Regions from separate parts of the Homo sapiens genome. Here region 1 is linked to region 2. Evidence: promoter capture Hi-C in human tissues and cell types (Jung and others, 2019). All regions are on one chromosome and are shown on one strand. Each heading gives the region's core, a stretch centred on a gene start or on the middle of the fragment in contact. The rest is flanking DNA. Distances are from core to core; before and after follow the strand shown. Region 1 overlaps PLCE1 (phospholipase C epsilon 1). Region 2 holds the start of PLCE1 (phospholipase C epsilon 1).

Region 1 (5,274 bases), core at 1,622-4,121, 150 kb after region 2:
ACATCAAAGGGCATGTCAAGTGTGTGGAATTTGTTATGAGCTTCATCTTGCTGATGCTGATGCTAGGAGGAGGTGTTACATCATTCGCAATGTCACCTGCTGCTGGACATAGGAAACAGCTGTGGCCCTGGACACAGAGATCCATAATGAGCTCCCATATAATGACTACTTCAAATACTTTGGACCAGATTTCAAGCTTCATATCAGTCTTTCCAATATAACTAACCAGATCACTAATGATGCCTGGAAAAGATCAAACAGCAACTGTCTGGGAACCTGAGAATGCTGCCCCACACACCTAGGGCCCAAATGTGGGCTCTTGCTGAGGATGTAACCTAGAGGAGAGTGACAACAAGGACGAAGACCCTGACAAGTGCATCTCCATCTGTTCCTCTGACAAACAAACTGCCTGTGAGGCCGGGCATCGTGGCTCATGCATGTAATCCCAGCACTTTGGGAGGCCAAGGCAGGTGGATCACCTGAGGTCAGGAGTTCGAGGCCAACCTGGCCAACATGGTGAAACCACATCTCTACTAAAAATAACAAAAGTTAGCTGGGCATAGTGGCACGTGCCTGTAATCCCAGCTACTCAGGAGGCTGAGGCAGGAGAATCACTTGAACCCAGGAGGCAGAGATTGCAGTGAGCTGAGATTGGGCCACTGCACTCCAGCCTGGGTGACAGAGCGAGACTCCATCTCAAAAAACAAAAAAATAAACAACAAATTGCCTGTGAGGATGAATTCTCCGACTCTGATGAAGAGGGAAAGGGTGGCTGCAAGAATTCTTCCAACTTCAAAAAAGCCAAGTGGGTCTAAACAGGATGAAAGAGAGAAAGACCCAGAAGAGAAGAAGTCACAGCAGAGAAGACCAAGGAGAAGCCAGAGGCCAAAGGGGTCCAGAAGGAGGTCAAGTTGGCTGAGCAGGCCTTTCCAGCTCTGGCTTCTTGCTGGGTCCCCTAACAACTTAGATTTTATATTTTCTATTTCTCTAGACTATTAGTAAATTTTTATTTACTAAACATAAATATCTTGGGGACTAGAGTGAAAGACAGAAACCAGGGTCCTGAGTCCAGGGCAGCTGTGCTGGGTGAGCTCTTCCAGGAGCTGCCTTGCCCCCCTTTCCTCCCCAGTTCTTAACTTTGAACCATAAAGGGAGCCAGGGCTGGGTGGGAGGGATACTTGTAGGTAGCCATATAGTAGTTTTGGAAAGGTGTCCTTATTAGCATTCTAGAAGGGGTGGCTGGATCTCCAAGGATCCTCTGTTCTTTCCAGGTTCCTAAGGTAATATTAGATGTTTTAGATTGGTTCTGTTCTCATACCTCCCCATTGTCCTCAAGTAAGCCAGGAAGCTCACACTGCCTGCCCTCTGTGTTCCTCCAATTCTGCAGGTGCAGATTGGTAGTCTAGTTTCCTTTTTTGGATACTATTTTCTTTTTGTGAGACTTTGTAATAAAATGGTACATTTCTATTTTTAAAAATAATAATACATTATGTATTAGAAAAAAAAACTAAACTGTTCATTTTTAACCAGTCTGAGTGTGTGGTATGTGTGTCTGTAGACTATATTTAGCTATATTAAAGTTATTTATCACATGTCAGCTATAAATAGAATATTGATATGAAAACAAAAATACCTTACAGATACAATATTTTTGTTTGAAAAGAGGGAATATTTTATTTCAGATAGAAAAGTCTACCAGCACTTTGAGAGGTCGAGGCGAGCACATCACTTGAGGTCAGAAGTTTGAGACCAGCCTGGCTAACATGATGAAACCTGTTACTACTGAAAATACAAAAAAAAAAAAAAAGTTAACCAGGCGTGGTGGCATACACCTGCAGTCCCAGCTACTTAGGAGGCTGAGGCATGAGAACTGCTTGAACCCAGGAGGAGGAGGTTGCAGTGAGCCGAGAACACACCACTGTACTCCCTCCTGGGCAACACAGTGAGACTCCCATCAAGTTTTCAACTTATTTTCTTTCACTACAATAAGCTTGTATATTCTATTTGTATCTTTCTCTAAAGTTAATAGCTTTGAATAAAAAACAAGAAGTTATAGTAGGAATACACATACACATTTGAACTACATGATTATAACTCGTAAATACTTTAGTTTGTAAAGGCTGGCTTAGTTGACTTCCTCAAAATCAAAACGATTACCCTTTACATGCCTACTAGGCAAGGAAGGCATGTGCATAGCTCTAATTCCAAGATTTGTTTATTTAAAGAAATATCCTGACTTGTTAGTATTGTGACCTTGAAATTATTTTCTTGGTATTTAAAAGTATGCTTTAATGTAATATTGGGTGTGTTTCTCTACCAGTTAATCAACTAAAAAGTATTCATTAGCTGCCCACTGTGGCCTAGTGCTATGGCACCTAAGAATGGAGAAGATCACATCTGGAAGTCTTCAACTTGTAAGATAATATTTCTCATTCCAGAGAAAATGTAATATTAGGTTTCAGGTCTACTGAAGGAGCCCTTACCACCTAAAGAGAATTCATAAAGTGCTAGGCTGCTACATTAAAGGTGGTATGAGTAGGTCATAGGGCCAGGAAGCTTGGTAGGCACAGGACAAAAACCTGTTTTAGGACCACAGGTGGTCAAGTATCATCCAGGAGTGTGACACTACACCTGGGTGTAACCTAAGAATATGACTCCATACCAGTTGTGACCAAGGAATGTGACTCCGTCACCAGGTGTGACCTGAACATAGCACTCCATTCCTAGGTGTGAATACACCCATTTTGAGCTGGGAGACTGATTCCATTTAATTCTCTTATGTGCCCTAATTTTGCTCCAAGAAACTAGCTTATGAAAGGAACAAATTATGGCCTAATTCTCCATAAAGTTTTGACACCAAAAAGAGAGAGAGGGAGAGGGAGAGGGAGGAGAAGGAGAAGGGAAGGTGAAGGGAAGGCGAAGGGAAGGTGAAGGGAAGGCTAAGGGAAGGTGAAGGGAAGGCTAAGGGAAGGTGAAGGGAAGGCTAAGGGAAGGTGAAGGGAAGGCTAAGGGAAGGCAAAGGGAAGGAGAAAGGAAGGCAGAAGGAGGAAAGAAAGAAGGAAGGAAAGAAGAAAGGGAGGGAGGGAGGAAAGAAAGAAGGAAGGGAGGGAGAGAAGGAAGGGAGGGAGGGAGGGGAAGGAAAGAAGGAAGATCGGGTAATTGAAAGTTGGTTAAATCCTAATCAATGCAGTCAGAAAGATGACTGGTGAGGATAGCAACACCAGACAGACACTTTGGGTTTACATATCTGAGCTGGTTATAAAAATGTCAAGTCCTAATTACAGAGACTCAGAATGGACCATATTGCAGAAATTTATTTGCAAAATAGTTATTTGAAACACTGCATCCAAAAAAACAACCATTAGATTCCAAAACTTCCCTCCAAAACTTACTGAATATTTAAGTAAAACAATAGTTCTTAAAAATGCCAGAGAATAGCTGCAGACTCTGCAGAAGTGGTTACCTCCAAGAAAGGCCTTTAAATGTGAGCCTCATTGTGTTTTGGATTTGAGCCTTGACTTCAACATTGGGTCATCCTATTCAGGTGATTGTACCTCTAGGCTTTAGTTTCTGCATCTACAAAATGGGAATAAAAGCAACAACTTCGGAGAGTTGTTTTGAGGAATAAGTGTGACAATGTATATAAAGAACTTAGGCCAGGTGGCTCATGCCTGTAATCTCTGTACTCTGGGAGGCAAAGCCAAGAAGATCACGTTAGGCCAGGAGTTCAAGACGAGTGTAGGCAACATGGCGTGATGCTGTCTCAAAAAAAAAAAAAAAAAAGCCAGCCAGATGTGGTGGTGTGTGCCTGTGGTCCCACCTATTCAGAAGGCTGAGGCTGTAGAATCACTGTAGCCCAGGAATTTGAAGCTGCAGTGCGCTATGATCCTGCCACTGCACTCTGTCCGCCTAGGTGATGGAGCGAGACTCTCTCTCTACAAAAACTTTAAAAATTAAAAATAAAAACAGCTTGGCATAGTATCTGGTACCTAATGTATGTTCAACCAATCTTATGATGATGATGGTCATGCTGGGGCTGATGATGGTGATGATGATGGTAGTAATGAGGATTGCCACCACCATCTTGAAATGCCAGCATTCCACTGTTCTTAATTCAAAGACTCTGCTGTTAGCTCAGTTGTAGATGTACAAGAAAAGACAAGTACCCTCCAGGTTTCCCTAGCTGTGGGCCTAGAGCACTAGCAACTCCTGGGACACCTAAGGGGAGGTATCTAGTGGCTGGAGGCCACACCTGTGTAACTCCTTTAGCGAGATTTTCCTTAGTTCCCATGCATTAGGCCACTGATTAATTCAATCATTTGACCAATATTTGTTGAACATCTACTATGTGCCAAGGATATAACAGCAAACAAAATACAGTCTTTACTTTCGAGGGATTTACCCACAAATGGAGGAAATGGACAAATAAACGTGCAAATTTTAAGATAGTATAAATGTTATAATTGAAATAAGCACAGGATATAGGGCCCCAGAGGGAAGTCCCTATACCATCTTCATTGACATCTGAGGTTTCTACAACCATTTAAGTACCTGAAGAAATCTAAACAGGTATTTAACCAGGGAAAACAAGCCCTGACCCATATTATGAAACTTCTGTTGTTTTTACTTAATTCTCTGCTGATATCATCTCTATTTTATTCCCTCCAGAGTAGAAAGATGCTAAGCATTTACTCCTGGTATTGGGAGCCTTGTCTAAAAATCTATGACTGGGACAAAATTTAGTGTTCCAGTTAAAATTTGTATATTTTAATGAAGATGACTTACTCATTACAATAAAATTAAAGGATTTTTTTCAATACATGACACTTCTACTTTTGAGTGTTTCTAAATTGTTTATTGTTTTTAAAGAGTAAGCCTCATTTTAATGAGCTATGAAAATTCTTGCTCTTGGGAACATTTATAGAACATAATAAAATGCTTATAATCTGTTTATAATAACATGTGGGTCAGTAGCAAATACTTAAGAGGATAAAAAAGAGAATATCTCACCATAGTCTGAGTCATAATTTAAACTTCTACTGGAATTGAGTCTTCAAACCAAGAAATAGTGAATAAATTATTACAGTTAAAGTAACAAAAAGATATTTTTAACGGTGTTTAGATTTTGGTAATTGAATTCTAATTACAGATATTATACTATCATCAGGAAAGTCTAACAAGTTTTGTCAACTGGAAATATATATTTGGTATTTTGTCTTTTTAACTTCATATTTCATTGTGACAACAAACTTAAAAAAATATTTTCTATAATGT
Region 2 (5,060 bases), core at 553-3,052:
GAGGAAGGCGCCCCTTTCTAGGGATGGGGCCACAGTGATTATCACACTTGGATAACTTTCCTGCTCAACGGACCTAGATTTGCCTTGCTTACTAATCATGCAATGACTCATTTGGAGGATTCAATGTTAACTGCTTGTGCATCTACCAGTTTGTAGCTATCTATTCCCATGTGCCAAATTAAAAAAAAAAAGTCTTTGGGGGTGCCAGGTGATGGATGAAGTTTGATATTATTTGATCATTAAATGAATTATAAAACCATAATATAATACTGTATATTAAATAAATAGCCTACCTTGTTTATTGTCAGTGATGCTACCTCTTTCCTCAGCCCTTTATTTACTTGTTCAGGATAACATAGCCTCAGGGATTGAGTAAATTACCACTTCTCACTGTCCTAGTGCTAAAATGCCAAGATCTTAAGGAACAAAGAATTTCTTTAGAGCCCTCTGCAGAGACCTTTCTGAAATCAGCTCTCCAGGGAGGCAATCATGTTAGTTTTCATTAAAGTCCTAGTGGTGAGAAAACAGCAAGACAGTTTAAGGACCAGACTGGCAGATTTTTCTTAACAGCAGGATTCTTTGGGCCTCCTGTGCTTTCTTGCTCCAACCTCTCCTGTGTTCTGGAGCCTCCAAGAAGGAGAGATCACTTTTAAGAGGGACCCGAAAGAAAGGGTCAAACATGAGCAGGAGGAAAGTGTGTGGGAGGAGATGCTCCAGGTAGAAGGCTCAGCTTAAGTTCAGGTACAGAGCTAGAGTGGGAGAGACATTCTGTTGGGTGATCCTTATTAGCCAGGGCATGCTGGGTTACACAGCCATGGAGAGTTAGTTTGGAGGGCAATAGGGAGCCAGTGAAGTTTTCTGCATAGATTAAAGTTGTAAAAAAGGAAGAATAATACAGCGGTGGTTTGAAGGATTGATTTGGTCCAAGGGAGAGGACAGTGGGAGGCGATATGGGCCACAGGAATGGGTCCTGATCGGATGTAGGAGAAGAGGTCAGGCCTAGGGAACGGTCTTCCATTAGAACAGGTAGAGGGAGGAGGCACAGGTTTAGGCGAAAGGGAGGAGGATGATGATTTGATTTTTTTTTCCAGGTCCTTGGCTCTCCTAAGACTCATAAAAGCCGCTCCAGCGGCTAAGGAAGTTCTGTGCAAAGCCTGTAGTTTCTAGTTGTGAAGATCTTCAGGTTTGCTTGAGCAATGAAAGAGTACTGGATTTGGAGTCCGCAGTCCTGGATGGCCACCATTACCAGCAAAAGGAGTATTTCCGGAGCCTGGCACAACGCTGGGCACATTGATGGGGCTCAATGAATATGTATTAAATGAACGAGTGACAGAACAGATTCGAGACTTGGTGCTGCCATCTACTACAGAGACCTTGATCGTGTCCTTTATCTGCCGTGAACCTCAGTTTCCATATCTGTCAACCAGGGGTGGTTCCCTGGGGTAGTGTGAGAGTAAATTCCCGCCGCCTGAGGTGTGCAGAGTTCCCGCCCTTCCCGGAGCCGGGCGCCCCAGGAGCGCTCTCTCTGGCTCCCGCCAGAAAGGATGGCTCCTAGGGGTCAGGGCCAGGGGTCTGGGAAGGGGTCGCGCCGCCAGCAGCCAGCTCCGGGGGAGGCGGCCGGGTCCTCGCTCCGCGCCCGCCTTCCCCGCGCGGCAGGAGCCGGGGGCGGGCCCGGCACAGGCCGCTCCCCCGCCCGGCCGCCCGCGGTGGCGCTAGCGGCCTCTCACCCGGGGCGGGCGAGTTCTGGGAAAGCCCGGCCCAGGGCGGGGGCCCCGCTGCCGCCCGCGCAGCCGCCGCTGTCCGGGCAGCGCGCACATCTCGGCGGGAGCGGACTGTGAACGGCGCGGGTCCACACGGTAACGCTGGGCAACGTGGGCAACGCGGCGGGCGGCGGGCTCGCGCGGCGGGAGGGGCAGCGGCGGCGCGCCCGGGCTCTACCTCCCGGGCTCTGCCTCCCGGGCTCTGCCTCTCGGGCACTTGCCTGGCTCCTGCGCGTTCCTGGGCATCGGCTCTGCAGCTGACACACAGTAGCGGGGACACCCGACGCCGCTAGCGACAGGCGCGCGGACGGCTGGTCCCAGAGGGACGCTGCGCTTGGGGACGCCGGCGAGACTCGCCAGGAGCCAAGAGGTGAGGAAGCGACTCTGTAGCTCGGTTCCTGAGGACTGGAGAAAGGGAAGGATGGGCTGGTTCTCTCCCAAGGCAGTCGACCCGCCTAAGGGAGCAGCCCGACTCCGCGTACCTGGCGGAAAAGTGTCCTCGCGCTCCCGGGGGACCCGAGGCGGGCGGTCCTCCAGGGCATGCAGGCCGCCCTCGCAGGGGCTAAAGGACACCCTGCCAGTGCCTTCACTCCAGACGCCTGCCTCAGGTCGCCCCTTCGTGTTGTGAATACGGTGTGGAGGTGGCCAGTGCAAAGAAAAACGTAAGCTCTTTTTGTGGCGGTACTTAGCAGCGGTATTTCAAGGAAAGTGCTCAAGAGATTGTTCCTGGAGAGATTTGTGTACATCAAGTCCTAGAAAATACAATATTGGACCAGGTCCCGCTCTAACTGATAACTAGAATAGCTAGCTTTGCCTTCAAGTCCTTTAATGCTACAGTAATAAATACACTAGAGCAAGAAGTCTTCTGTCGTGGCGAATGTTAGGTGCACAGCGTAAATTTGTGGAAGCTTTCGCCCCTCGCTCTGTATTTAAGCCATCAGACACTGAGTTCAGCCGACTTAACCAATTATTCAGTGTAAGACTCATTTAGTGATTAATCAGTGTCATTTTAAATAGTGAGTTCCCTGAATACCTGTTAAGTAGGATTCACGTCTTCGAAAAGTTTTATTTGCACGAAGGTCATAATTTCAGTTGCATTATGCAAAATTTGCCCGTAGGTCTTTTAGATCTCTGCAGGATTGGTATGTTTTCATGTTTCTTATACCCCCCGTAGAGGTAGGGCAGGGCCGCTGCCACAGAATGGGCACTACTGAGGCCAAGAATGCTTGACCCCACTAGGGAGAATTTTTGAGAGCCTGACTTGGGAGGTGGAAGCAGGTGACCCCATAGGTGCTTGTACAGGTGCCCAGTTGTCATTGAGGAGAGAGGTGGACTATCTCTAGGTTATTGTATGCATCGATGTCTTCATAAATACTTTTCTGAAGAATGTCTGATGGTGTTGTCATCTAGACCATCTGATGGCACATCTTCCCCCACATCCACCACTCTAAAGTCTAACCATCCTTCAAACTGTGTTTTGCTGGTGGTGTGAGGCTTTTCCTGAAACAGCCAACCTCCCCCTGCTCTGATTTCTGCAGCATTTTTTCTCCAGGGCCCTTTCTGCTCTCTACCTTCTGGGAGTTATTTATGTAGATGTCTCATTTTCCCTACTGAAGGCATTTGCTGTGGCTTTCATGGCAAAATGCTTGCACCTAGAAGACTCTAGAGATAATTGTGGGCCAGTATTAAATCTTAAGACTTTGGTTTTACAACATAAATATCTACTTTGGAGAAGGAGATAATATAATTGAAAGGAGCTAGAGGAATGTATAATGTTTACCATTAACACTATCCTTTATTTACAGCCCCATGGGGGAAATTCCCTTTATACCCAGGAGCCATGTCTTACCAGGTAAGAAGCCAGATTGAACTGGAGGGACATTCTTCCAGTCCTCTTAGTAACATAAACTCCTGGGATGTGGTCCAAGTTTGACCTGTCATTAAAAATTCCATACTCCAGTGGGTTAGAAGCTAGATTCCAATGAAGGCGGTTGGTTTTGTTTTTCTATTTACAACCATTCTTAGTCACATTCTTCTCTGGGCTTTTGTTGTATACTTTAAAAAAACTGTTTGATGTGCAATTTGTTACCTGTAACTTTCTAAATGAATAAAAGAAGATTGAAAAAATACTGTGCATGGTGGAAGAGTTTTCTAAAGTAGACAGCAGGGGACGTTTCCCATGCCTGGGCAAGAGGAGGGATTTGCACAGAGTGAGGCTTGCTGCACGTGTGTGTGTGTGTGTGTGCGCGCGCGTGTGTGTTCCACACACCTGGCTGACAGGCGCCTATATAGGACAGTTGCTTTAGTCTTAATGCCTTCTCTCTCTGCCGGAACTACTTCTGCGGTGGAAGAACAATAAAACAGAGCTTCTGGGTTCAGAAGGAGAAGCAGAGGAAAAGCCAAAAACAGTAGAAGCAGCTAAGAGTGTGAATTTGTTTGCTGAAGTTGCTTTCCTCCCAACGTTCAGTTGAGATCTGTGGCATTGAGCAAGTAGGGGTTTGGTTGAGGCGAGGGAAGACAGGTGATTAGGAAACATGGTGCTTCTGGAAGAGGGGTGGAAGGTTCTGATAGGGTTTTAGGGAAGCATGTGATTTAGTTATGTAAGGCCCAAAGAGGAGAGTTGGAGATGGAGGAGTAGGGAATGGAGAAAGAGAGGAAGACGATATCAAAGATGCATTTTGTTATAGGCCAACCATGTGGCCTACAAAGAAGGGCAGAACTCTCTCTAGCATCATGTGTTCCTCTCTGCTCCCTGGATGCAGAATGCAGGGTTTTTACCGAGGCTATAATTCATCTGTGTTATGGCTTAAATAGATTTTCGTGGGCCAGATTGGGAACCAAGCCCTCGGAGGCTACATTGTCCAACATGGTAGTCACTAGCCACATATGGCTATTTACATTTGAATTGAAATTAGTTAAATGAAATTAACCACCCATATTTCAAGTGCTTGATAGCTACATGCAGCTAGTGGCTACTGTATTGGACAGTGCAGATATAGAACATTTTCATCATCTCAGAAAATCCTTCCCTAGAGGATTGTTTCAAAGGGGTAATTCCTATTAATCTCCAAAGTGTACTGGTTTCCAAATGAAATTTAGTCATAACTTTAAAGTTTCCAAATTTTACATGAAAATAATAGAAGTTGTTGTTGGTAACACTATGGTGCTTACTACATGCCAGGCACCACTCCAAGAACTTTTATCAATTAACGCATTTAATTTTTATATATTACTCAGTCAATGTGAGAGATCTTATCCTTTAGCTGTATTTCCAAAATCAAAAAAGCTCTAAAAACTGTG

The links. The method cuts DNA at HindIII sites, captures the fragments that hold promoters and counts their contacts. A contact is called where the count stands out against the background at its distance.
Region 1: a fragment that was not itself captured here is called in contact with the fragment with the promoter of PLCE1 in region 2 in 1 of the 25 tissues and cell types used here (H1 embryonic stem cells).

Annotation. Positions count from the first base shown.
Region 1 is chr10:94,138,586-94,143,859 of GRCh38, forward strand. All of the region lies in intron 3 of PLCE1 (phospholipase C epsilon 1), which reads left to right. It also overlaps the pseudogene HDAC1P1. Among named protein-coding and RNA genes, the nearest start is that of PLCE1-AS2, 32 kb to the left of the region's middle. The HindIII fragment of the contact is 3,556 bases long and covers 1,094-4,649 here.
Region 2 is chr10:93,992,129-93,997,188 of GRCh38, forward strand. It overlaps PLCE1 (phospholipase C epsilon 1), which reads left to right and starts at 1,803. Exons shown (of 33, transcript NM_016341.4): 1 at 1,803-2,130. It overlaps LOC105378438 (a long non-coding RNA gene), which reads left to right. Exons shown (of 4, transcript XR_946215.2): 4 at 1,092-1,591. RefSeq lists a silencer at 1,617-1,906. The HindIII fragment of the contact is 15,571 bases long and covers 1-3,962 here.